Linked DNA regions of Homo sapiens: region 2 is linked to region 1. Evidence: promoter capture Hi-C in 16 types of primary human blood cells and fetal thymus (Javierre and others, 2016). All regions are on one chromosome and are shown on one strand. Each heading gives the region's core, a stretch centred on a gene start or on the middle of the fragment in contact. The rest is flanking DNA. Distances are from core to core; before and after follow the strand shown.

Region 1 (4,573 bases), core at 1,281-3,780:
AAATGTGCGCCATTAATGACAAGCTGAAAAAAGGAGCAGGACTCCGGAGGCTTGGGTTCTGGTTGCACCTCCTTTACCCTCTAGCTGTGTAGCCTAGCCCTGGGCAAGTTCCCTTTCCACTCTAGGCCTGTTCATCTGTAAAATCAGGAGTTAGACACCTGACCTCCTGTGATCCTTTCAGCTTTGCTACTCTGGCCCTATGTCAAGCTTCTGAAGCAGGGTTGTGCTGAGCAGTGGGGATTTGTGTCTGCCTCCCCAGGCTTCAGCACCGGGGATGACCCCACCCAGGTCCTGGACAGTATTTCCCAGAGAAGGGGACAGAGCCCAAAGCCATGGGGAAGGAGGTACGTGGCCTGGGTAAGCTGCGTCCTGGCTTGGAGGATGTGAAAGAAGTTCCAGGGGGAGATAACTCCCCTCCAATTCAGAGCAATTAAAGTGCCAAGTTTTCAGGCCCCAGGGAAGGGTTTTGGGGAACTCCCCTTTCCATAACTGTGCTTCCCTGTCTTCTTCCTTGCCTCATCCCCATAGTATAGATCTGGGGTTTGAACCCCAGTTGCTCAACTGTGTGGCTCTGCAAAAGTCACTTAACCTCTCTAAGCCCCAGTGTCCATATCTGTAAATGGAATCATTGAGACTAACAGAGAAGATTGTGTAAGACTACTCACACGAATACGCCTAGTGCTGTGCCTACTGCCAGAGCTCCCTTCCCGAGTCTGGAAAAGGACTGTTAGGGCAGATGGCCCCCAGGCCACAGGGCAAATGACTAATTCGCTTTGCCCATGCACTGGGTGTAGGGCAGGGCCTGTGGAGGGACAGGCTGATGATGGGAAGGTTGGATGGGAAGAACATGCAGAGGATATTACCCTGATTGCTAGTGAGGAAGGGCCACTCAACCTGTAGACCTATTTATTGTGTTATTAATAAATAGGAGACCCAGGAGCTCTCTGGGACTTTTCTGTGGGGTTCCAGCATTGAGCCCCTGCTGATGGACAGGAGGTGGGCAGCATGGGAAGGGCCCTGGTCCATAGCAGGCCTGGCCTAAACATGCACTGTGGGTGTTCCTGCCACTCTTTTGAGCCTGGTTCATCCGAGGCCCCCAGTTTCTAATCTGGTTGGGAAGGATTTATTTTTGGGTCCCTGTAACCTAGCAATGGGCTCACATGACCAGTGGCAGCTGCAGGCTGAATATACCATTGGATCTCAGCTCCTGGCAGGGGGTGTAGGCCAGACAGTGGGGGAATAAAGAGAATGGAAGGGCTCTCACCTCTGCTTTCCTCTGCCTCCCTCCTCAGCCCCTTGGCCTGGCTCCCAGATGCTGGGCAGGGTGAGGTGAGTGCTTGGAAAGCAGGCATGGCTGGTGCTGGTACAGGGGGGCCCCAGGAAGCCAGGAACTGAGCTGTGGTGTGGAGGTCCCAGCTGTAAGCCTGCTGTCTGGTTGGCAGGGGCGGGGGGGTTGGGTGCCCATGCGGATGGAGGTGGATGCCAAGAGGACACAATGCCAGCAGCTTGGCGGGGGAGGCCTGGCTAGGGAGTAGGCGGCTGACAGGCAGTCTATGTTGTGGGATCTCAGGGACATCCCTGGTCGATGCTGGAATCCCAACGTTCTGCTTCTTCTCTTTGTTCCCTGTTAAATTGTTAATATTCCTGGGAAAGAACACATTAAGTTGCTATCAGTGCAAATGGGTTTATCAACCTCTTTCCTGAGAGCAGATTCTGACACAAGGCAGAGAAGGAGGGTAGTGGGTGCCACTGAGCAGGCAAGGGGCTCTAGGGAGGGGGCAGTGGCAACATAAGAAGTCTTCAATGTTTATTGAAGAAGTGGATGGATGAATGAAAGATAAACTTGATTGGCTTCCAGGTCTCATCCTGGGGCAGAAAAGGGTGGATGGGCAGACACGACCCTGTCACGAGGTGCTGGTGCACAAGGGTTGGGTAAAACTGTACCAGGGAGCAAGTCTAGGATGCAAAGATCAGTCCTCAGCAGCAAGGGCCCTGCCATGATACCAAGGGAAGGGGTGCCACTGTTGGAAACAGGGCCTGGTCCCCGTCCTGTAACAGGATTCCCTTCCTGGGTGTGTGCACAGCATAGTGAGCCATGGATCTCTTATGTGGTTTGGGGGATCACACTCAGTTTCTCCATCTTGGTCTTCTTGCCCCCTCCATTGTGCTAAGCTTTACTAAAAGGAGGGACTGGCAGGTGGGGTTGGGGGTGTGCTGTCAGTAGCTACTCCACACCCTGACTGAGATCATTTAATAAGATACAGCATAAGAAGTGCCTCCCAAAGTGGGCCTTCAAGAACTAGTAGCATTATTATTATTATTATTTATTATTATTATTTTTTGAGACAGAGTCTCACTCTTATTGCCCAGGCTGGAGTGCAATGGTGCGATCTCAGATCACTGCAACCTCCACCTCCTGGGTTCAAGCGATTCTCCTGCCTCAGCCTCCTGAGTAGCTGGGATTACAGGCATGTGTCACCATGCCTAGCTAATTTTTGTATTTTTAGTAGAGACGGGGTTTCGCCATGTTGGCCAGGCTGGTCTTGAACTCCTGATCTCAAATCATCTGCCCGCCTCAGCCTCCCAAAGTGCTGGAATTACAGGCGTGAGCCACTGTGCCCAGCCAGCATGATTATTATTATTATTTATTATTTGCCCACAGGCTAGAATAAGCAGTTCCCCCGCCGACCTCCTGAGCCAAGATGGTTCCAACAGCTGGAACATGCTGCCTCTTTGGTACTGCCTTTCCCAATAGCTCTCTGGGAGGGGCTTCAGGACACGGACGCCTTGCCTGCTGGCCACCACATGAGCTGTGATTACCTGTGCTAGCTCCCTGAAGCTGGAGAGGCAGGCTATGTTTGTTTTGCAGGCTCCCTACCACTATTAGATAAGCTTGGAAGTGAAGAATTTTGCCCATTTTCACAGACAGCCAACTCACAGGCCAAGGTCTTACCACCAACCAATAGAATGGCGCCAAACTGGAACCAAGGTTTTCTGACTCCAGTCTAGCGCTCTTTCTAAAATCCTGTTCCAGTGGGCCCAGGTCTGCTCCAGTTCTTATTGAATCCCTCGGAAGGGGCCATGCCAGTCTGGGCTGGGGCCCTGCAGGAAGAATGTGGGTGCTGAGCAGGGACAGGCTTTACCTAATCCCAGACAATCTGCTTGATGCCAAATTAATCTTGCCAACACAACAGCACAGGGCTTCCTAAAAATCACTTTGCTGTCTACAGGTTTTCAATTTGGTATTTCCATTTGAATTTCTTGTACGCAGGTATGCCTAATTTTGAGGTCTGTTTTAGGCTTTCTGGAAGGCAGTGACTACTTCTATGAAGATAGCTTTTAGGGCTGTAGTCCACAGTCTTGTGTCAGGCCACTGGAGAGGCCACGGAACGAAGGGAGAAGGAGGAGGAAATACTTGGACTTCAAACAGATCTGGGTTCAAATATCAGCTCTTGCACTTATTAGCTGTGTGATTTGGGGAAAGTCACTTCTCCTCCAGCACCCGGTTCCTCACTTATAAAATAGGGCAAGTCATGGCTGCCTCATAGATTGGTGTGGGGATCAAAGAAACTGTATGTAAAGGGCCTGGCACTCATAACAGCTCAAAAAGTGGTGGCTGGTGACAGCGGCACTTGCTGCATCGGCTCTTGGTTTGTCAGTGGCCTCTTTGTTTTTGACCTGGGGCTTGGGGCAGCCAACTTGTCCCAGTGAGGTCCTTGGGTAACTCATTGTTCTTATGGCTCTTTGGGTTGGGTCTGGTAAACAATTCCAGAATTCCCTTTTTCCTTCTTAGAGGCAGAAGGAGTCCCTAGATAGGCAAGTCTCAGGGAAGCAGGCTCTGGAGTAGGGGATCATGCCTGAATTCCCTGTTTAGACTCATGGCTCTGCCATGTGGAGCTATGTGGCTTTGAGCAATCTCTTTATCTCTCTGGGTCTCAGAAACATGGATACCTTGGCCTGTAGGATGTCCTACAGCTTTGCAATGTTAGGATTCTATCCTTGGGTATCAGTCATGTACCCGGGTAAATGATCATTTTCTTCATAGCTAGAGGGAGGCCATGCCCCTTCATTGCGTCTCTGAAGGCCCATCATGCCACAGATGGGCGATGCTCAGTGGCTGATGCTACCTAGCTCTGTCCAGTCCCACAAATCCAGATCAGTGTGAGCATTCCTGAGTCCCTGGCCCCCACTCTGTCTCCTTCAGGAAGCAGTGTTGTGGTGGTTCCCATGGTGGCTCGGGGGGATGTTAGATCCTCCCGCCCCCTCCCTGCCAATCTCCATCAGCCCTCACAGCCCCAGTTCCAATAAACATACAATCTAAGCAAATAATAATAATGTGCTTTTGGGAGGCAAGGGCAGGGTTAAGACAAAGCCTTCAGCTGCCCTTCAAACCTGAGTGCTGCTCCTAAACCTGTCCCCCATACGCATTAGGCAGCTTCCAAAGGGGCCAAACCTTGGACCATCCCCTGGAGCCTCAGCCGCCTCCCTGGCCTAAGCCTTGGGGCCCTGGGTCTGCGCTGACCTGCCTGCATCAGCACCTTGGTTCTGATGTCACACAGAACCATGCATCTCT
Region 2 (5,091 bases), core at 2,294-4,793, 200 kb after region 1:
CATCCAGGCACTTGGGGTCAAATATACGGTTCTGATCCAAGATATCATAGGTGAGAAAATCCACAAAGGTGAGCTAGAAGAAAAGCAATAAGATGCTTAGGTCTGAGGAGTAGTAGCCTGCAGAGATAGAGAAGTATCCTCTTCTTTTCCCTTCTTCCTACCTTTTCCCCGGCAAACCATGAGAATTTCCCCAGAAACATGGAGAATTGTTTCAGTTGTCCAGGTAGCTCTTCCAAGTACTGAGGCTTCAGTTTTTCCTGAGAGGAAAAAACAGAATGAGAATAGTGGTGATCATCTTTGTAGTTAATCAGGGCACAGGCCAGTGATGGACACTTAGTAGCCCCTTCTCTAGGTGGGTTCTCATTGCCTTCACTTGAGGATGGCAGGGTGGGGAAAGAGGAGTTTAGAAAGAAGAGGCACCAGCACCAGAATTACATGACAAAACAAACCAAAAAATATAAGTTCTGTTTCTTATTCTAACAATCTGGATTGGTGGGAAGGTAGCAGCAGCAGAATGGAACAGAGATAACCCTTGGGTTCCTAAATACCCCTTTTTCTGATACTCCATTCAGCAGATGTGTGCTAAGGAAACTCACGTGGTCAGAGCTGTAACAGAGCCTTATCAGTTGTGTGCGGAAATCCATTACTTGGTTCTCTATGATGTCCACTCGAATCTTTTCTTCTTCAGTCTCACCACCTGTAGGCCAAATGACAACAAATCACCCTTGGCATCATCCACTCTCAGACAAACTACCAGCCTGGGGTCCCTCACCAGCCCTACCCCACTCACACATGTTGTGCTTGCGAGCGATGTAGCGCAAGATGGCATTGCTCTGGGTGATCTTGTTCTTCCCATCCAGGAGGTAGGGCAGCTGAAAGGAAAAGGACAGGACAAATGAACAACCTGCCTCTCTCTTGATTCCCTACCTCTCTCTCCAGGGGAAAAGAACACTTGCAGGGCAGTGAACAAGAGTGAGAAGATGCTGTGTTAGGAGAAAAAAGAAAATAAGTAGAAGGTAGCAACTGGGTCCACAAGATTCTAGACAGGGGTTCTTAAATTGGTGTGTGTATGTGTGAGTGTATGTGCATGCCATGGACCTTTTCTCAGAATAAAGTTGTTAAATGCATGAAGCAAAATAGATAATTTACACAATCAAAAAATATTTTTAAAAATTCAAATAAGAGTAACATGTGCCTATTAGTGCATTAAATAGCAAGCAGATGTAATGACTAACATAATCTCAAAGTAAATAACATTATATGTATATATTTACTTACATGTATATAAATATCACTTAAAATATCTGCAACGCATGTTATAGAATATGAAACTACCTGATTTCAGGCTGGGCACAGTGGCTCATGCCTGTAATCCCAACACTTTGGAAGGCCGAGGTGGGAGGACTGTTTGAGCCCAGAAGTTCAGGATCAGCCTGGGTAACATGGCAAAACCCCGTCTCTTACAAAAATACAAAAATTAGCTGGGCATAGTGGTGTGTGCCTGTAGTCCCAGCTCCTTGGGAGGCTGAGGTGGGAGGACTGCTTGAGCCTGGGAGGTTGAGGCTGCAGTGAGCTGTGATTGCGCCACTGCACTCCAGCCTGAGCGACAGAGTGAGACACTGTCTCAAAACAAAAGAACAAGAAACACACAAAAAAGAAAATACCTGATTTCTACTAGTGACAAAGTGACAGACATGGCTAATAACCAATGTCACTTATTGTCTCTCTTCACAATAAAAGGAAATAACTTTTGCTAGTGGTTAATGGGAATGAAAATACATATCCATCCAGTTCAAGGACCCCTGAATTCTATTTATTCTATCCGGGTTAAGATCCCCTATTTTGCATCCTTCTGTACCAGGCAGGAGAGAGGCAAGGATGGATATACTTGAAGGCTTTCCCTTCTGCCCGCCACCTCTACTAAAGCCACTTACATTAGGAAAGTCCAGGTCTAGCTTGAATTTCACATCCAGCCATTGGCTTCGATCATAGTCAGGAGCTGTAAGAGACGGAATTAAGTGGGACCCAACCTCCTTAATACCCCACCTGACAAGAGCAAAAGATCTAAAGAAATGACTTGGTCCCAATACCTCAAATTCCCAGGCCCCAAAAGCATAACCATTGAGCCTCTGAGCCCTATTTGGTTAAGCATTAAGACGGGTTTGGGCTATGTTAAAAAGAGAACCCCCAGTTCCAGATAAAGGATGTGTCTCTATTCACCCAGATTGGGGCAAACGTCCCACCCGGCCTTGGCGCGACGCCACCACCCTCTGGGCGTAAGAAGACCAGGGCAGGTGGAGGGCCAGCTTGGCTGCACGGGCACGCGGAGCGGCATTACCTTCCCCGCACGTGTACCGTTTCTCCTCATAAGAGGTATCCGTGAACTCCAGGAGCAGGCGGATGGCGTGCGCCAGCTGGGGAAGACAGCGGTTCAGCGACTGCGCAGCTCCCACCCATTCCCAACCCCCGCCCGCTAACGTTCCCCGGCCCGGGGCTGCCGAGTCCCTGCGTCCTGCCGGGGCGGTGGTTAAGCGGCCCCTAGGCCCGGCTCCGGCGTGGTCTCCTCCGCCCCTCCCCACAGGGCCCGCGATCCCAGAGGCTGGGCAGGGGTCGACATCCGTGGCTCGGCAGCTCGAAAAGGCTCCCGCGTAGAGCTGCTCCTGCTGGAGATCGCGGACCCAGAGACCCGCCCTCTCCGCGTCAGTCTCTTTGACCGAGCGGCTCTACCGTTGAGACGGCACTCACCCCACGAATATCCCAGTACCCGAGAACCATAGACGACTCGCACGACATGGTGACGGGCTTCCGAGCCTTCGAGGACTAGGGAAACTGTGAGCGGGAGGGGCTTTATACCCGACATAAGGGGGCGGGGCCCACGCGCGGGCGCCCTGACTCCGCCTCCGCCCCGTTCTCCGTCCCTTGCCTCCGCGGCTCCACAGGGCCGTGCGCAGGCGCGACTAATGCCGGCGTTGGGGTTCAGGGCCTGGCGACCCCGAGGCGGGACCCGGGCAGGAGTGCTGCAGGAGAGCAAAGGACCCGAGGTTGAGGCTCCTCCCTTCCCCGCGGGTGGGAGCCAGACTTCATTCATTAATGGTGCCAGTGAAGACGCGAAAAGCACCACTAGCCAGGCAGTGGGGACCCTAGTTACCCAGGGAGAGCGAGATTCGCGCCGTTTTTACCGAGCCAGCCGGGGCTGGATGAAGGATAGGAAGACTGGGGCAAGGCCGGAGAGTCAGACCAGCCTCTGACCACACAGAGCAGAAGATTCCCCACAGACCAAGCTCCCCTCTCTGTCAGTCAAGGACCTCTGCAACCTGACCCCAACGTGCTTTTCCAGTCCTGTCTCTCCCTCAGCCCGTCACAACTTCATAAGCCAGCCCAACCCAACAATACTTGCTGTTCCTTCTACACACACTTGCATTTCCCACCTTGGAGTGTTTGCTCTGTGATCCTCCTACCTGCATCCTAATTTCCACAGCCTATCCTTCCTCAGCAGCCTTGCTGAAATGTCTGCCTATTCCTTGAAGCCTTCTCAGAACCAACCTCTATCCTGGCCAGAAGAGGTCTCTTATCTTGAATGTTTCCTACCTTTGTTTTATGGGCTTAAGTAATTTATGGATTCCTTATTATAATTTCCTCCTCCAATCCCTCCCACTTCCTAATGCTCACGCATTTAGGGAAATTAATCTTGCCTCTTTGTGTAGGATGGACTGGAGGAGGAAAGGTACTACCATTTTTCATTCACTCATTCATCTGTCCAACAATGTTTAACATGCCTGTTATGGACAGGCACTGTTTTAGGTGCTGGGGATACAGAACTGAACTCAACAGACAAAATCCCTGCCCTCAGGAAGTTTACATTCTAATGGGGAAGAAATAAACTAATATATAGTAAATAGCTAGTAAGTCAGGTGGTGATACACATCCTATGGAGAGAAATAAAATCGAGAAGAGAGATAGGGGGTCTCAGGGTGGGAACTGGGGGAGTCCCAGTAGGAAGGGGATTTATGTTTTTAAAGGTTATGTTCATAGAAGGCCTCATGGAGAAGTTAATCTTTAAACAAAGACCTGAAGGAGGTGAGAGATCAAGCCACTCTGCTGTGGGGGCCACCATGGGCTGATATAAATATAAAACAGAATAATTGCTGTTCCTTTTACAAGCATGTTTGCTCTGCTCCTGCCTGCACCCTAATGTCCATGGCCTAGCCTTCCTCAAGTAGCCGTGCTCAAATGCTCACTTCTTCCTTGAAGCCTTCTCAGAATCACCCTCTATCCTGGCCAGAAGAGTTCTCTCCCTCTCTTATCTCGAATCACTTCCTACCTGCAGGAGGCAGAGAGAACTCCAGGAAAAGGGAAACAGCAAGTACAGGAGTGATCACTCTGTGTTTGAAACCAGAGACTAGATGAGATCACCATGGGAGCACGAGTAGCAGAGATGAGGTCTAAGGGTTTGAGGTGCTCTGGCATATCAACATGTAAAGGTTAGGGAAAAATGAGAGCAAACCAGCAAAGGAGTCTGAAAAGGAGTGGCCAGGGAGGTAGGAGGAAAACAAAAGGTCCCAGAAGCCATGTGAAGATGTTTAAAGGGAGAAGTGATCAACTATGTCAAGTGTGGCTGATCAAGTAAGATGAAGATGGAGAATCAATGGTTGAATTTAGGAAAGTAGGGGTTTTGACCTTGACAGAGCAAGAGACCTGCCCGAGGCCCCTATAGTCATGGGAAGAACTAAGCTTCTGAATTTCGGCAGGGCCCATGCAAATGAAAAGGGGCACAGATTTGCAACAGGGTCAACTCGGGAGACATAGGATTCTAGTTGAATGTGGAGGAGTGACAGAGGAAGGAGTCCGGAGCTGCTCTGAGGGTTCTGGCCAGGCCTCTGCAGCACAGCTCTCAGGGCAGTCTGAGAGCCTAGATCCCCTAGCTCAGGTGTGGGAAATCACATTTGCCCATCAGTTCAACTGAAGCAAGGTTGGGACTTTTTAAAAGGGCATTTTGCTAAACAGAAGAAAGGAAGAGTACAAACCACATGGACAGGTGAAATTTATAATGCCTGTGTCTCTCCTCCCAAGAAAGCAAAAGGCCAGTCACAA

Evidence for each region. Contacts are between HindIII fragments. The CHiCAGO score rates a contact against its expected background, and 5 or more counts as called.
Region 2: the fragment with the promoter of GSTM3 here is called in contact with a fragment that was not itself captured in region 1 in 3 of 17 cell types (M2 macrophages, endothelial precursors and M0 macrophages); the score reaches 7.5 in M2 macrophages.

Annotation. Positions count from the first base shown.
Region 1 is chr1:109,534,920-109,539,492 of GRCh38, forward strand. No RefSeq gene overlaps it. Among named protein-coding and RNA genes, the nearest start is that of GPR61, 2.7 kb to the right of the region's middle. RefSeq lists an enhancer at 4,466-4,573. The HindIII fragment of the contact is 720 bases long and covers 2,171-2,890 here.
Region 2 is chr1:109,737,495-109,742,585 of GRCh38, forward strand. GSTM3 (glutathione S-transferase mu 3) reads right to left here and starts at 3,544. Exons shown (of 9, transcript NM_000849.5): 1 at 3,459-3,544; 2 at 2,746-3,017; 3 at 2,339-2,414; 4 at 1,935-1,999; 5 at 791-872; 6 at 597-697; 7 at 162-257; 8 at 1-73. The coding sequence starts at 2,793. RefSeq lists a silencer at 2,754-2,983. The HindIII fragment of the contact is 14,932 bases long and covers 1-4,729 here.